2 separate regions of the Homo sapiens genome follow, and region 1 is linked to region 2. The links are contacts of gene promoters, found by promoter capture Hi-C in blood cells and fetal thymus (Javierre and others, 2016). All regions are on one chromosome and are shown on one strand. Each heading gives the region's core, a stretch centred on a gene start or on the middle of the fragment in contact. The rest is flanking DNA. Distances are from core to core; before and after follow the strand shown.

The links. Contacts are between HindIII fragments. The CHiCAGO score rates a contact against its expected background, and 5 or more counts as called.
Region 1: a contact is called between a fragment that was not itself captured here and the fragment with the promoter of FSIP2-AS1 in region 2, in 2 of 17 cell types (M1 macrophages and erythroblasts). The highest score is 5.8, in M1 macrophages.

The regions. Positions count from the first base shown.
Region 1 is chr2:186,251,722-186,259,004 of GRCh38, reverse strand. No RefSeq gene overlaps it. Among named protein-coding and RNA genes, the nearest start is that of LINC01473, 170 kb to the right of the region's middle. RefSeq lists an enhancer at 2,663-3,319. The HindIII fragment of the contact is 4,307 bases long and covers 2,874-7,180 here.
Region 2 is chr2:185,795,135-185,802,228 of GRCh38, reverse strand. FSIP2-AS1 (FSIP2 antisense RNA 1) reads left to right here and starts at 2,079. Exons shown (of 3, transcript NR_144453.1): 1 at 2,079-2,149. FSIP2 (fibrous sheath interacting protein 2) reads right to left here. Exons shown (of 23, transcript NM_173651.4): 16 at 4,703-7,094; 17 at 1-2,532. The HindIII fragment of the contact is 2,248 bases long and covers 577-2,824 here.

The sequences.
Region 1 (7,283 bases), core at 3,778-6,277, 450 kb before region 2:
TTGAGAATATCTTTTAAAAACTGAGATTAGAAATCTGAGTAATAATGCAATAACAATATCAGAAACAACTTGTGTTGCTTTTATAGACTAGGTAAGGAAATGAATAAATTGCTGATCTCTATTACTTTTTATTTTAAGACAGGTTCTCACTCTGTCACCCAGGCTGGAGCACAGTGGCCCGATCTCGGCTTACAGTAGTCTCAACCTCCCGATCTCAGGCCATCCTCCCACTTCAGCTTCCCAAGTAGCTGGGATTGCAGGTGCACACTACCATGCCCAGCTAATTTTTGTGTTTTTTGTAGAGACGGGTTTCACCATATTGCCTAGGCTGGTCTTGAACTCCAAAGCTCAAGCAATCCACTTGCCTTGGCCTCCCAAAGTGCTGAGATTACAAGTGTGAGCCACTGTATTTAGCCCTTATCTCTATGACTTTTGAGAGTGAATACTTTTTATAAATTTGGAAACATATTCAGTATATAATTTTAAAGGTAATAGTAAATTCTTATTAATCATATACTTTATGCATTATTTAAAAGATAATTAAACATTTATAGCTTGTTTCTTTAGTCAATTTGATTTGTAATTTCAGAAAACATAGATGCCTCAATTTCTAACTCTAAAGAAGAATGTAGTGTATATACTTACACATACATATTTTATATATATATATATATATATTTCCTAGCAGTGCTCCTCCTCCCTTCAGTATATTTTCTCATATTAAAAATCTTCACGATTTGTTCTTTACAAATATCCATTTAGACATACAATAACTAGATTGTGAAGAGCTGTCATTACTAAAAGAGATACTAGCTGATCCACAAGATAGGATAAATATAGTTAGTATAATTTTAATTATAAGCTTCTCTGATTTATTGTTATTTAAACCAGTTAAATAACATATATTTTCTTTATAAGATTTTATATATATATATTTTGAGATGGAGTTTTGCTCTTGTTGCCCAGGCTGGAGTGCAATGTCGTGATCTCAGCTCACTGCAACCTCTGCCTCCCGGATCCAAGTGATCCTCCTGCCTCAGCCTCCTGAGTAGCTGGAATTACAGGCATGAGCCACCATGCCTGGCTAATTTTATATTTTTAGTAGAGACGAGGTTTCTCCATGTTAGTCAGGCTGGTCTCTAACTCCTGACCTCAGGTGATCTGCCTGCCTCAGCCTCCCAAAGTGCTGATTATATTTTTATAATCAGCCCGGCCAAGATTATATTTCTATAAGATTAAATTATCTTTTAAAATTGCATTATGGGAATTTATAATGCTTATTGTTTCATTGTATTAATGACTGATGGAACAATATTCTATTTCTCTTAAATATTCCTCTTGTTTTTAACGAATAATTTCTAATAGGAAGTTAAGTTTGCATTAGTCTTTGGTTAGAATTCTCTGGTATTTATTATACTTAATTGATTTATGACAAGTATATGTAGTACCCTCCATCTTTTGTAGTAAGAGAGGTTCAAGAAAATCACCTTGAAATTACTGAGGTCACCCTTCCCCTATAGTCTGGGGAAAGGGATCATAAGATAAGTATTTTATATTTAGCTGCCAGTGCCTGGCTCAGTCCTCATGGAAGAGATTGCTATCCTGGGACCCTGGGGTTGAAATCACCACAACCAGTCTGAATGCAGTGCTGCTCTGGGTTGGCTGCCTGTACTAGGAGAGGGTTGCATAGGTGAAATGAGAGTTTAGCACTAAGAACAGCACCCTTAAAGCATCCCCAGGGACCACGATGCTCTGCATAGGAATAGATAGAATTTTATGAAAAAAGTCAGAGAGGAAAGGAATATCACTAGCATTAGGCTCATCCTCCTCCCAGACCACCAAATCTCTCTCACTGCTCACTAGAAATGACTTGAAAATATCATTTTGGTGAAATTTTCTCTTTTTTATTATTTATTTCAGTGGTCACTAAATTTCCTAGAAAGTGAAATTTCCATAGCAGATGCTTAAAAACCAGACTTGTTTATTGTGTCAAGTGAATTTTTAAGGTCAGTTAATTTCATCAATTAACCAGTCATAAATTTGTTTTGAAAAAAATAAGTATGTTCTTTTATTATGTTTTATTCTAAAAAACTTAAATTGGAATTTTGATGGTATCTATTAAAAGATGATTTACTACTGATTCAGGGATATTTCCCATAGTATCTTTAGGCAAGCAAAGCATGTTTTGATTAGAAAAGGAGTTAAGACATGGTTTCAAAGCGTTGGCCCAAACATCTATATTCCAGTCAACCAGAAGATGTCACTATTGTGTACAGAATGTGTAAAAGAAAAAAGTATACTGTAGTTACATTGTGTGTCTCCTAATCTTGCTAAATTTTCTCTGGAGTCTCATGAAGGAAGCACTGTCTTCAAGTTGACAGGCACTGAAAAACTACTACATTCATTGGATGGGTGTGCCAGTTACATTCCCACATTATTCATTTGAAAAAAAAATAATAAAACTACATTGGCAGAAAATATTCCAACTCAATAATTTTGTACAGTGCTAACTGGAAATTAATAACCATGCAATATATCTGTTTTGGTTCTAGCAACAGAGTGTGTCTATTATAAGTAAATTTAGCAGACATTAATTAAGAAAAATCAAACTGTTTCACAAATGACTTTGATTAAACTAATTGTTCACTTAAAGCAGAGAAAATAAACTGCCAAAATATACACTTTAACCTAAGATTAATGGATGTCACTAATAGAATGCCTTCTTAACACTTTCATCTGTTAAATCAGAGTTCTTTTTATAATGAGAGTGCTGTTGACACCTCTGTACTTGTTATGAGACATTTTGTAAGAGAAGTTTACTGCAATCTTTGCAAAATCCTTTATAGGCAAGGAAACAAGATTGGTGGGAAGCTTGTTTGTAGGTATAGAACTTTCCCAGATGTATTTACTTAAGAAGCAAACAGTGAAGACACGCAGATGTAAATTAGATCCCAGGTGCCATTAGCATGGTAATGTGGGCCAAACAGCTGGGCTTAATTCAGGTCACTGACTGGTTTGACCGGTAGGATGTCAAAGGCAAGGCAATTAGGCCGAATCAGGAATGTTTCCCAGTGAGTTAGTATGTATGTATGTATGTATGTATTTATTTATTTGGAGACAGAGTTTCACTCTTGTTGCCCAGGCTAGAGTGCAATGGTGTGACCTCGGCTCACTGCAACCTCTGCCTCCCAGGTTCAAGCGATTCTCCTGCCTCAGCCTCCTGTGTAGCTGGGATTACAGGCGCCGGCCACCAACATGGCTGGGTTTTTTTTTTTTTTTTTGAGACAGAGTTTTGCTTTTGTTCCCCAGAGTGGAGTGCAATGGCATGATCTCGGCTCAAGGCAACCTCTGCCTTCCTGGTTCAAGCAATTCTCCTGCTTCAGCCTACCAAGTAGCTGGGATTACAGGCATGTGCCACCATGCCCAGCTGATTTTGTATTTTTAGTAGAGACAGGGTTTCTCCATGTTGGTCAGGCTGGTCTTGAACCCCCAACCTCAGGTGATCCACCTGCCTTGACCTCCCAAAGTGCTGGGATTACAGGCGTGAGCCTCCATACCCGGCCTAATTTTTGTATTTTTAATAGAAATGGAGTTTTACCACATTGGCCAGACTGCCCTCGAACTCCTGACCTCAGGTAATCTGCCTGCCTCAGCCTCCCAAAGTGCTGGGATTACAGGTGTGAGCGACCGTTGACTGGCCTAGTACTTATTTTTTTTTCATGAACTGTTTTGTTATTTTGCCCTTCTCCTCATTTAGGTTCATTTTGACATCTACCTTTTGTCCATGTATTGATTCATTGAGAGAAAATGATAGGTTTTTAAATTTTTAAAAAGTACTCCCTTTTCTGGCTTAGTTAGTAAAAGCAATCAACTATTTTTTTTTAAATAGGGATATTAAAACTTAAAAGGCAATTGCAATTTACATTTAGCTAATGCTTATCAAGTGTTGCTTAATATGTACCAGGTACTATGCCAAGTGATTTACATGGAGTACCTCCTCCTAACATATCTATGAGGCAGGTTCTGTTATTATTCCTATCTTACATATGAGGAAATTGAAACACAGATAGGGTTAGTAAATTATCCAGCATTACTGTGCTAAAGAGAGGCAGAGCTGGCATTCAAACCCGGAAAGTCTGACATCAGAGACACATTTAACCCAACTATTCCATATTGCTTCTCTGAAATATATAAAATACATTTGGTTGTGGTTACGTCTCTATTGTAAAATTTGTTTCCATTTTCTGCTGAGAGTTAAGAGCAAGTGGAAAGAGGTTTTCACAGTCCTTCCTTACCTACCAATACGGACTGAATGAATTGATACTATTAAATCTTGGTATTGATTTTATTTTTTCCATTCATCTTGCATATTTTTATTTGTCTTGAATATTTAGAAGAAGCAGGGAACTTTGAATCTTTCTTTGGTATATAATTTCTTATTCTTAGAAAAAGAAGAAAATTGTTAGTGAAGAATTATTAGAACGTAGAGGTCTTTGAGTTGTGATGTCATTTAAGAAGAAAAGAAATTTGATTTCTTGTCTTTTCTAGATTTGTGAGCAATAGAATCCATTTGAAAGGCTTGGATTAGAGTGAATATTTTGGCTGCAGAAATTTACAAAGTGTATTGACCTATATATGCTTACAGTATATTACTTGGGACCTAATGTAACAAGTAGATACTTGATCAGTTTAAAGATGAACTTTAAACAATGAATTCTAACATGTATTTCTACAAAGAATTTTTACTGTAAAACAAAATAGAAACAACTTAAGGTAAATATCCATGTTATTATTTTTATGGCTTATTGATTCCAACAACAACTTGAGAGTCTATTTAGATTACTTAATTGAGATTAGAGGTGATGAATTACTTATTACTCCAATGCAGTAGTTTTTTTAGTGACAATCAGAGATTTTCAGATGATAAGACTATTAGGCAGTCCACTTGAGCCACTTGCTGTAGTGATGTATAACATACATGTATGGCAGGAAAAAACCAAGTCAGAATACCTTATTTCTTAGGAAATTTATACATTAAAAGATGAGTGCCATTTTGAATAAGTAGATTGTTAAACAAATATTTATTGGTCACCTTTGTATCAAGTAAAATAACTTAGTGATGGATACATGATAGGACAAGTCCTCATCTTATAAACTGTGTTTATTTCTTTTTTTTATTATACTTTAAGTTTTACGGTACATGTGCACAATGTGCAGATTAGTTACATATGTATACATGTGCCATGTTGGTGTGCTGCACCCATTAACTCATCATTTAACATTAGGTATATCTCCTAATGCTATCCCTCGCGCCACCCCACAACAGTCCCCAGTGTGTGATGTTCCCCTTCCTGTGTCCATGTGTCCTCATTGTTCAATTCCCACCTATGAGTGAGAACATGCAGTGTTTGGTTTTTTGTCCTTGTGAGAGTTTGCTGAGAATAATGGTTTCTAGCTTCATCCATGTCCCTACAAAGGACATGAACTCATCATTTTTTATGGCTGCATAGTATTCCATGGTGTATATGTGCCACATTTTCTTAATCCAGTCTATCATTGTTGGACATTTGGCTAGGTTCCAAGTCTTCGCTATTGTGAATAGTGCCGCAATAAACATACGTGTGCATGTGTCTTTATAGCAGCATGATTTATAATCCTTTGGGCATATACCCAGTAATGGGATTGCTGGGTCAAATGGTATTTCTAGTTCTAGATCCCTGAGGAATCGCCACACTGACTTCCACAATGGTTGAACTAGTTTACAGTCCCACCAACAGTGTAAAAGTGTTCCTATTTCTCCACATCCTCTCCAGCACCTGTTGTTTCCTGACTTTTTAATGATTGCCATTCTAACTGGTGTGAGATGGTATCTCATTGTGGTTTTGATTTGCATTTCTCTGAGGGCCAGTTCTGATGAGCATTTTTTCATGTGTCTTTTGGCTGCATAAATGTCTTCTTTTGAGAAGTGTCTGTTCATATCCTTCACCCACTTTTTGATGGGGTTGTTTTTTTCTTGTAAATTTGTTTGAGTTCATTGTAGATTCTGGATATTAGCCCTTTGACAGGTGAGTAGATTGCAAAAATTTTCTCCCATTTTGTAGGTTGCCTGTTCACTCTGATGGTAGTTTCTTTTGCTGTGCAGAATTCTGCTCTTTAGTTCAATTAGATCCCATTTGTCAATTTTGACTTTTGTTGCCATTGCTTTTGGTGTTTTAGACATGAAGTCCTTGCCCATGCCTATGTCCTGAATGGTATTGGCTAGGTGTTCTTCTAGGGTTTTTATGGTTTTAGGTCTAACATTTAAGTCTTTAATCCATCTTGAATGAATTTTTGTATAAGGTGTAAGGAAGGGATCCAGTTTCAGCTTTCCACATATGGCTAGCCAGTTTTCCCAGCACTATTTGTTAAATAGGGAGTCATTTCCCCATTGCTTGTTTTTCTCAGGTTTGTCAAAGATCAGATGGTTGTAGATATGTGGCATTATTTCTGAGGGCTCTGTTCTGTTCCATTGGTCTATATCTCTATTTTGGTACCAGTACCATGCTGTTTTGGTTACTGTAGCCTTGTAGTATAGTTTGAATGGATAAATTTCTCAACGCATACACCCTCCCAAGACTAAACCAGGAAGAAGTTGAATCTCTGAATAGAACAATAACAGGCTCTGAAATTGAGGCAATAATTAATAGCTTACCAACCAAAAAAAATCCAGGACCAGATGGATTCACAGCCGAATTCTACCAGAGGTACAAGGAGGAGCTGGTACCATTCCTTCTGAAACTATTCCAATCAATAGAAAAAGAGGGAATCCTCCCTCATTCATTTTATGAGGTCAGCATCATCTTGATACCAAAGCCTGGCAGAGACACAACAAAAAAAAGAGAATTTTAGACCAATATTCCTGATGAACATCAATGCAAAACTGTGTTTATTTCTATCTTGAAAGTTTATAGAGTATATAATTCCTCTTATTGCTTCATTCTGTCCATAGAGTAGATAATCTTGGATAAGAAGTCTGATTCCTTACAGAGTGTTTGGTCTAATTGGGGAAGCAAACCATATCTCTATATATTTATGTGTCTAGAGATCTATGAAAATATAACTAATAATTCAAGAAAAAAGAAGATAAAGCTAGGTGAATTATATAATTGGATCTGTATGCTTTCAGGGGAGAAAGAAAGCTTACTTAGACTGAGGAGACCAGGGATAACTTCATGGGTGATATGGGTCTTGAACTGGGTCTTGAAAACTTGATAAGGTTTGAAAAGTAGGAACAGCCAAAGGTG
Region 2 (7,094 bases), core at 830-3,329:
ATGAATCAAGGTGAATATCTAAAGGTGATTGCTTCTGAGGTCTGTGTGACTCTATCACTTCACTCAGAACCTGTGTAACAATAGTAGACACTGGATCCAGTGGAGTCCTTGGATGACATAAAACCTCTCCACTCAAAAATGGTTGAAGATGATTTTCGATAATCTCTTGGATGATAAAGCTGGCTATTTGGTCAATCATAATTGGGCTTCGGCTTACTATACTTTTTTGTATTGAAACAAGAGAGTCAGACATTTGCAAAATATTACAATATACAGAATCCACCATCTTTTGGAGGTTTTTTCCAGTATATAGATATTGATTATCATATATAGTGAACCAGATTTTATGTTTTGAAATGGCTGACATAACCTTATTTATTATACAAGTGGACATTTCATTAAAATCAGAACTCATTAAATATTTTTTTCCTAAAGAGGAACATGTAATGGGTGGAGGAATTAGCTGAGATAAAAGCCTTCTTATGACATCTTCTAAAAATGAATGTGATAACATGGTACTATAGTCTGATGAAGACCTGGGTAGAGAAGTAAATTCTGTTAGGTTACTTTGAAGCTTTTGCAATATAATTTCAGGTTTGAGAGGGTAATATGAATGGGGTATGAGATGTTCCTTGAAGCAAGATGGCAGTTTGTAGTCTAAAATCTCTAACAATATGCCATTTGTTATTTGTTCTGCTATTGAGGCATTGTCGTATACCGGATTATTACCACAGGCCACTTTTAATTCATACTGCTGTAAAACATCATAATAAACTGAGTCAACAATTTTGCTAACAGTTTCTGTATGAACTGGTGGAAAACACAGCCTTTCTTCAGCATTCCGTAGAACAGTGACTTGAGCATTATTAAATTCATTCACTACATTGTTGACAAATAATGTATTCATCTCATTGAGCCAGGACACAGTGATGTTTTTATTTTTGCCCCACAATGACATAGAGAGATTAAAAAACAATTCTGAAATTATTCCTTCCAAAAATGTGGCTGAATAAACACCAGCATATATACCTTCCTGATGTAGCTTATTATGAATGGCTACCTTATCCATTTCCTTTGTTCTCTGTCTTTCAAAAGGTGACACAGAAGAGGATTTTACTGCACAATGCTTGTTAAATGGTGCTTGTATTTTGGAGCTAACCACACTGGGATTATTCAGGGATACTGTCAAAGAATTACTATCATAGCTCCTGAGTTCTAAAGAACTTTTACTCTGTCCTAATTCTATTAATTCTGACTTTCTTGCTTTTATGAAACTAGACTGTATTTCTCTTGTTCTGTAGTTCAAATGCTTATTTGCAAAAGGTAGACTTTCCGGAGCTTGTTGTATGCTGTGAGATAATTTGTCCATCAATGATTTAACCAAGCTGTGGGAAATAATAGTAAGCATAGAGTCTGATGTCAATAAGTCTTGATCAATTTCTGCCACATTCTCCAAAAGGTCTGACATGTAATCTACTTGAAGGCATTCACAGTCCATTCCTCCCTTACGATAATCAGATTTTCCATCTTCTACACTTTGAAGCATTTTTAAAAGTTGACATTCTTCTGCTGATGTTTCCTCTGAAACAGACCCTTTATCAGGAAAAGCAGTGCTTGTGCATTCTTCCAAAAGTATTCTGATAAGTTTCTCACATACAACATTGAGAAGAAAAACTGATTTTGAGGAGAGCTGTAGGTTATTGGTAAGTATGCTATTAGGTTGCTCATTATTCGAGGAGTAGAAATATGTTCTTTGTATTTTACCAGAATCCATACCCGTATCTAGGCATTCATCTGGTGAAAATAAATCTGAAACAATATTAAAAACTTTATTGACTACTTCTTTGGATTCACTTGTTTTTAGGTTACCAACCAGGCTGTTTAACTTACATGCAAGATAACTTAACTTATTTTTTTGAAAAAGTTGACCAATTTGTTGAGTAGAAAATTGCCAGTCTCTGGGGCTTGCCTGTCTATTGATTTTGTTGCAAAGGGGTACACTATTATTTCTATGCATAGAAAATGATTTGTTTCTTACATTGCTTTCAAAGTGATAATCTACTTCTATTTCTTTGGACAGTACATGAATCACTCCTACTAAGAGATCCTGAAAGAGGTCATCAAAGCCACCAGAAACTATTCCTGGACAGTAAGTGTATTTTGTAGGTATGGCAACCATTTTCTGTGCAATGTCAGCCTGTATAATTTTATTATTAAAAAGAATTTTAATAATGATTTCAGAAATACATAAAGCAAGTTCTCCAATGGAAATTGACCTGCTCTCAAACACTTGAGAATGAATTGAAATAATCTTGCTAAATGTTGCTTCTTGAATTTCCCATGCTTTCTCTTTTTCTCTACCCTTTTTGGTGCCATCAGAAATGCTCGAAGTTAAATGGTAAAGTACTGACTCAGTGAGATGTTCACAACATTGATAAATTGAAGAATCATCGTATATGTTTCTTAGGAACTGTTTTGATTCATATTTTTTCCTTGACCATGTAGAAACAGACATCTTTTCCTCACTAAAAACTTAAAAAAGGAAACATTGTAATTTTAGCATGGATTAAAGAAAATATAGAAAATTCAATATATTTGAAATTATTATTTACATATATATTTCACCCTTTGAGCAACTCACTAAAGAAAAATCTAAACAAAAAAAGAAATTAGATTTTCCTCAAACATTTATTTTCTCACCTTGCAAAATCTTAATTTTAGCCAATAAATTGAGAAAATAACACCCCAAAATTCAATCCTCTAAGTCAAATGCTGATGTCTGCCTTGGTTGGATGGTTATGAACTCTTAAGAAGCTGGAAAGCTTGGGGCAGAGAAATAATTTCCAGGCTTAGCGATGCATCCTACCATGTCTCCAGTGATACCTAGAGGTGCCATATAATTATTTTAAAATAGCTTTAGACAAAACATTTAATGTTATGCTATGTTTTACTTTTAGGACATTAAGGAGTTGTGTTGCAATATCAAGTTGACTAAAATAAAAGTGTGGCAACTCCAGAAAAGCTAGTAATAGATTGCAATAGCAGTAGTACTTTAGTCCCTAGATTATAGTTTGTCACAAAGAAGGAAGGTTGGCCCAGCCAGGTGAAGAACTCTATATTTGTTTTGTCCAAAATTCTATTTGTTACAAATCATTACCTATTTGCAATGGCCAACTGCTGGGTGTGGCAGCCAAGAGCAACACAGTTTTTTTCCTCAGAACTTAATTATATATTATATATCTTCATGTGTTATCAGGCAAGACTCTACACAGATAGAAGACTTTAAGCTGAGCTTTGACTGCTACACAGGTTTTGGCCATGTCAAGATACAGGGAATGAGGAAAAGGTATTCCTAGTGGAAGAAGGAACATGAGCGAAGTCACTGGAAGACCTTGGAGATGTCTGAGAATAGGAATATAGAATTGTTAGAGCCAAGTGTCAATGTGATGAAATCATGGATCTTCTCTTGCTTGTTTTGCTTTTGTTTATTTTTCTGAAATCAATTAAGTCATGCCTGGAGTAAGTCTATTTAAGAGTTTGTAGTTGTAGCTACATTACCGTCCATCTTGGGAGAATACTGGTTTTAAGGATGGAAAATAACCTCCTCGTGCAGGTGGGTAGGACTGCTAATATCTCCAATTAGAATGATGTGTGATGTATCTGGACTGGTGATGTAGCAAGTAATTATTGGTAACTGAAACTACTGACCTAGATCTGGGGTATTATAGTAATACTAAACTGAATTTTATTAATTGTCAATAATCAACTGTTTTTGATATACAAAATGACGATTACATGTTGTTTCACCTAATATATACACATGAGTATACTTAGAAAGATAATGCAAATATAATCCCTGTAATGATACAGTTGGAGTATTATATCTAAAAGGAATTTAAGTCAGAATACTGGAATGCAAATAAAACAAGATATTCAATTCTACTGTTCTTTTAAACTTTGAATAATAATAACAAAGCCTTCAAGAATACAAAAATTAAATGACTTTTAATCAGTTAACTGCACATCCCATATGATTATAAAGAAGTTATGCATAAGAATTTTAAAAACCCTTCCAAATTTATGCCTCATGCTCAACCAAAATCTCCTGCTTTAAAATGGCCTCATTTTCTCTCATTTGTAGATAGAGAAAACTGAGCAACACATCCTTCAAATTCAAATCCTGAAAACATTTATTTATTTTTATTTTTTTGCATTGTGATGAATTAAAAAGCAATTGAGGCTGAGCACAGTGGCTCATGCCAGTAATCCCAACACTTTGAGGGGCCGAGAAAGAAGGATCACATGAGGCCAGGAGTTTGAGACCAGCCTGCGCAACATAGCAAAACCCTGTCTCTACAAAAAGATTTTTAAAAATTAGAGTGCAGTGGCATGCCTGTGGTCCCAGCTATTTTGGGGGAAGGCTGAGATGGGAGGATGTCTTCAGTCCAGGAGTTCAAGGCTGCAGGAAGCAATGATCATGCCACTGTACTCTAGCCTCAGTGACAGAGACACTATTTCTAAATAAAATAAAATAATACATTTAAAATAAAATTAAAGTGCAACTCAGTAGTCATCTACCTCCAAGGGTATTTTCAGAAAAATAGTGAATACAGCTTTTTAGACAGGAGATCTTTTAAACATGTCTTTTACTGGTTTTCTTCCTAAATCATGCAAATTTTTAGGTACGTTCTCTCTTGCTTACCTGTAGTTTCAAAGTTCTTCAAATATGTGACCACAGATGTGGTGACATGTCTTGCTATCAGATGAACTTCATTGGAACCCATTTCATGATCAGCAAAAGTAAAGGCTTCAACTTCCTTCACAGTCTCTATCTTTGGGTACTCCTTTTTTTTCAATTTTTGCAAAAAAGAAGAATCTTCCCGGCTGGCTTCAAGGTTTTCATTTTCTTCCTCAGGTATATAGTTGATTTTTTTATCCTGCATTCTAAGCAAACTTTTTTCGTTATCCTTTTGCCCTCCAGATACTTCAGATAAAGAGCTTTGTTTTGATATGAAAAATGGTTTCATTATTTCCCTGTTCTCATTAGTGTGTGGTTGACTTGGAAAGCCACAGCTGGATAGCACAGTATTGACAATATTTTCTGCAGCTAAACATATTTTGAGAGGGGAAATGGTTGTCTGAATTTGGTTTGGTTCAACAACTGGTTTTAGGTTCTCATAATGAAACACTCTTAGATTTTCACCTTTTCCCATTTCTATGAATGACAAGACTTGCTTTAATGCTGCTTCTGTGGAGTCACTTGCTTTCCTAAGCAGCTTTTGTAAGAAACTGCCTTCAGGGAGGTAGCTATTTCCTTTCATGGTCTGATCAAAACTACCAAAGTTAGATTCCCTTGGTCTGTGGTCTTGTACTTTGTTTCTAGTAGAACACGATGGCATAGTTTCTGAATCAGGCCTTTTCGTTGGCTCTGAGTTTTTAACTGTGTCTTCTACAGAGGATCTGACAGAGGTGGGTAAATCTGATGAAACCCTGTACTTTTCTTTCATATCTTCATCTGAACAAAACACAAACCCAGTTTTACTCACTTGTGAAGGATTAATCCCCAAACTACCTTCCTTTAACTTTGATGTGAACATTTTCATATTAGTTGCTAATTCAACCTGATTAACAGTGTAGGCATTTTCAGCTCCTTGGAACAAACTTTCTCTTGAAAGGTTTTGTATCAAAGACTCATTGAAATAAGTACACTGGTCCATTAGTGTGCCAATGATCTCACTTGCTACAATGTTCTCTTTCAATATGCTAATTGAAGATGGTTCCATTTGGCTTATTTCGTTGTCTAGCTTGTTCTTAATTACAGCAAGCATGTCACTGATGATATTAACAGCATATGTAAGTAATTGTGAATGGAATGAATGAACCCGTAGAAGGATATTCTGTATGTTTTCCTTGAAATTAATAGTATTTGACTCGGATTTATCAGAAAACATTTTCAGTGGTTGTAATTTTGGCAACATTTTTTTGTTTAACAGTTTCTGTTGGATAGAAGAAAGGTTTTCTATAGGCATTTTCACAATTTCAGAAAACTCATATTTGGAGATATGTTTAAACTGCAAGTCCACAAATGACTCTAACATGTTTAAAACCGTTTCTACAATCTCTTGAACAATTTGGTTGCTGGAGCCCACAGAAATTTGGTCTTTTGTCTTTGTGTTATAGATTGGTAAACTGCTGAGGCTATGCTTGTTTGGAAAACCATATTTACTTTTAGCAGTAATGTGTTCTTTACTGTTTGATAGAGTTTCTTCACTATCTGGAGTGGGAATTTGGGACAGAAAGCATAGCTGTAGTTTTTCAAGTAGCATTTCAACAATTTCCCTTCCAAACATATTAATTTGTGCTTTAGTATCCTCGGCTCTAGTAGAAGCTCCTTTAAAATGATTATAAAACCTGCTTTCACAATTCTCAAGAGGGGGCAAATTTAAAAGTGAAAGAGAATATTCTAATTCTTTTGCTTTTATTGAAATTTCAGTCAAAACATTTTCAGCTATCATCAATAGCTTACATTTTTCATTTTCCTTGTCATTTGATTCTGTTTGCCACTTGTCAAACAATTTTTTAAATATACCTTCTCTAGGAAAAATGTGCTCTAGCTGTGAAGAAACATTCTCCAAGTAAAAACATGCTTGTTGTTTAGGAAGGGATCCTGTGCCTATATTCCCCTGTGAAAGTCTGAGATGTGAGGATTTCATCGGGTAAGCCAAATTGCAGTTATTGGTAACATATAATTCTTGCAAAACTGTATTAACTATTTTACCTGCTGCTATGATTTGATCAGATGGTAAAGCTTTGGTTTGCTTTACCTTTCCAAATTCCTTCACAATTGTTTCTAGGATGTTAATTATTATATCCTTGGCATATATTTTTAGTTCTGAAGTGGGCAATTTTGTGTCCAGTAAATTTTTGGCATCTCCAGCTGACATGATGTGTGACAACCCAATGGCAGTCTTGGATCTGCTGTCTTTTAGGGTCTTCTCTCCAGGACCTAACTTGGTTTTGCTTTTGGCCTTAGCAGCACTCAGTCCTAAGTGTGTTTTTTTTGTAAATTTAGGCAAAGTGGTAATTTTTGATCT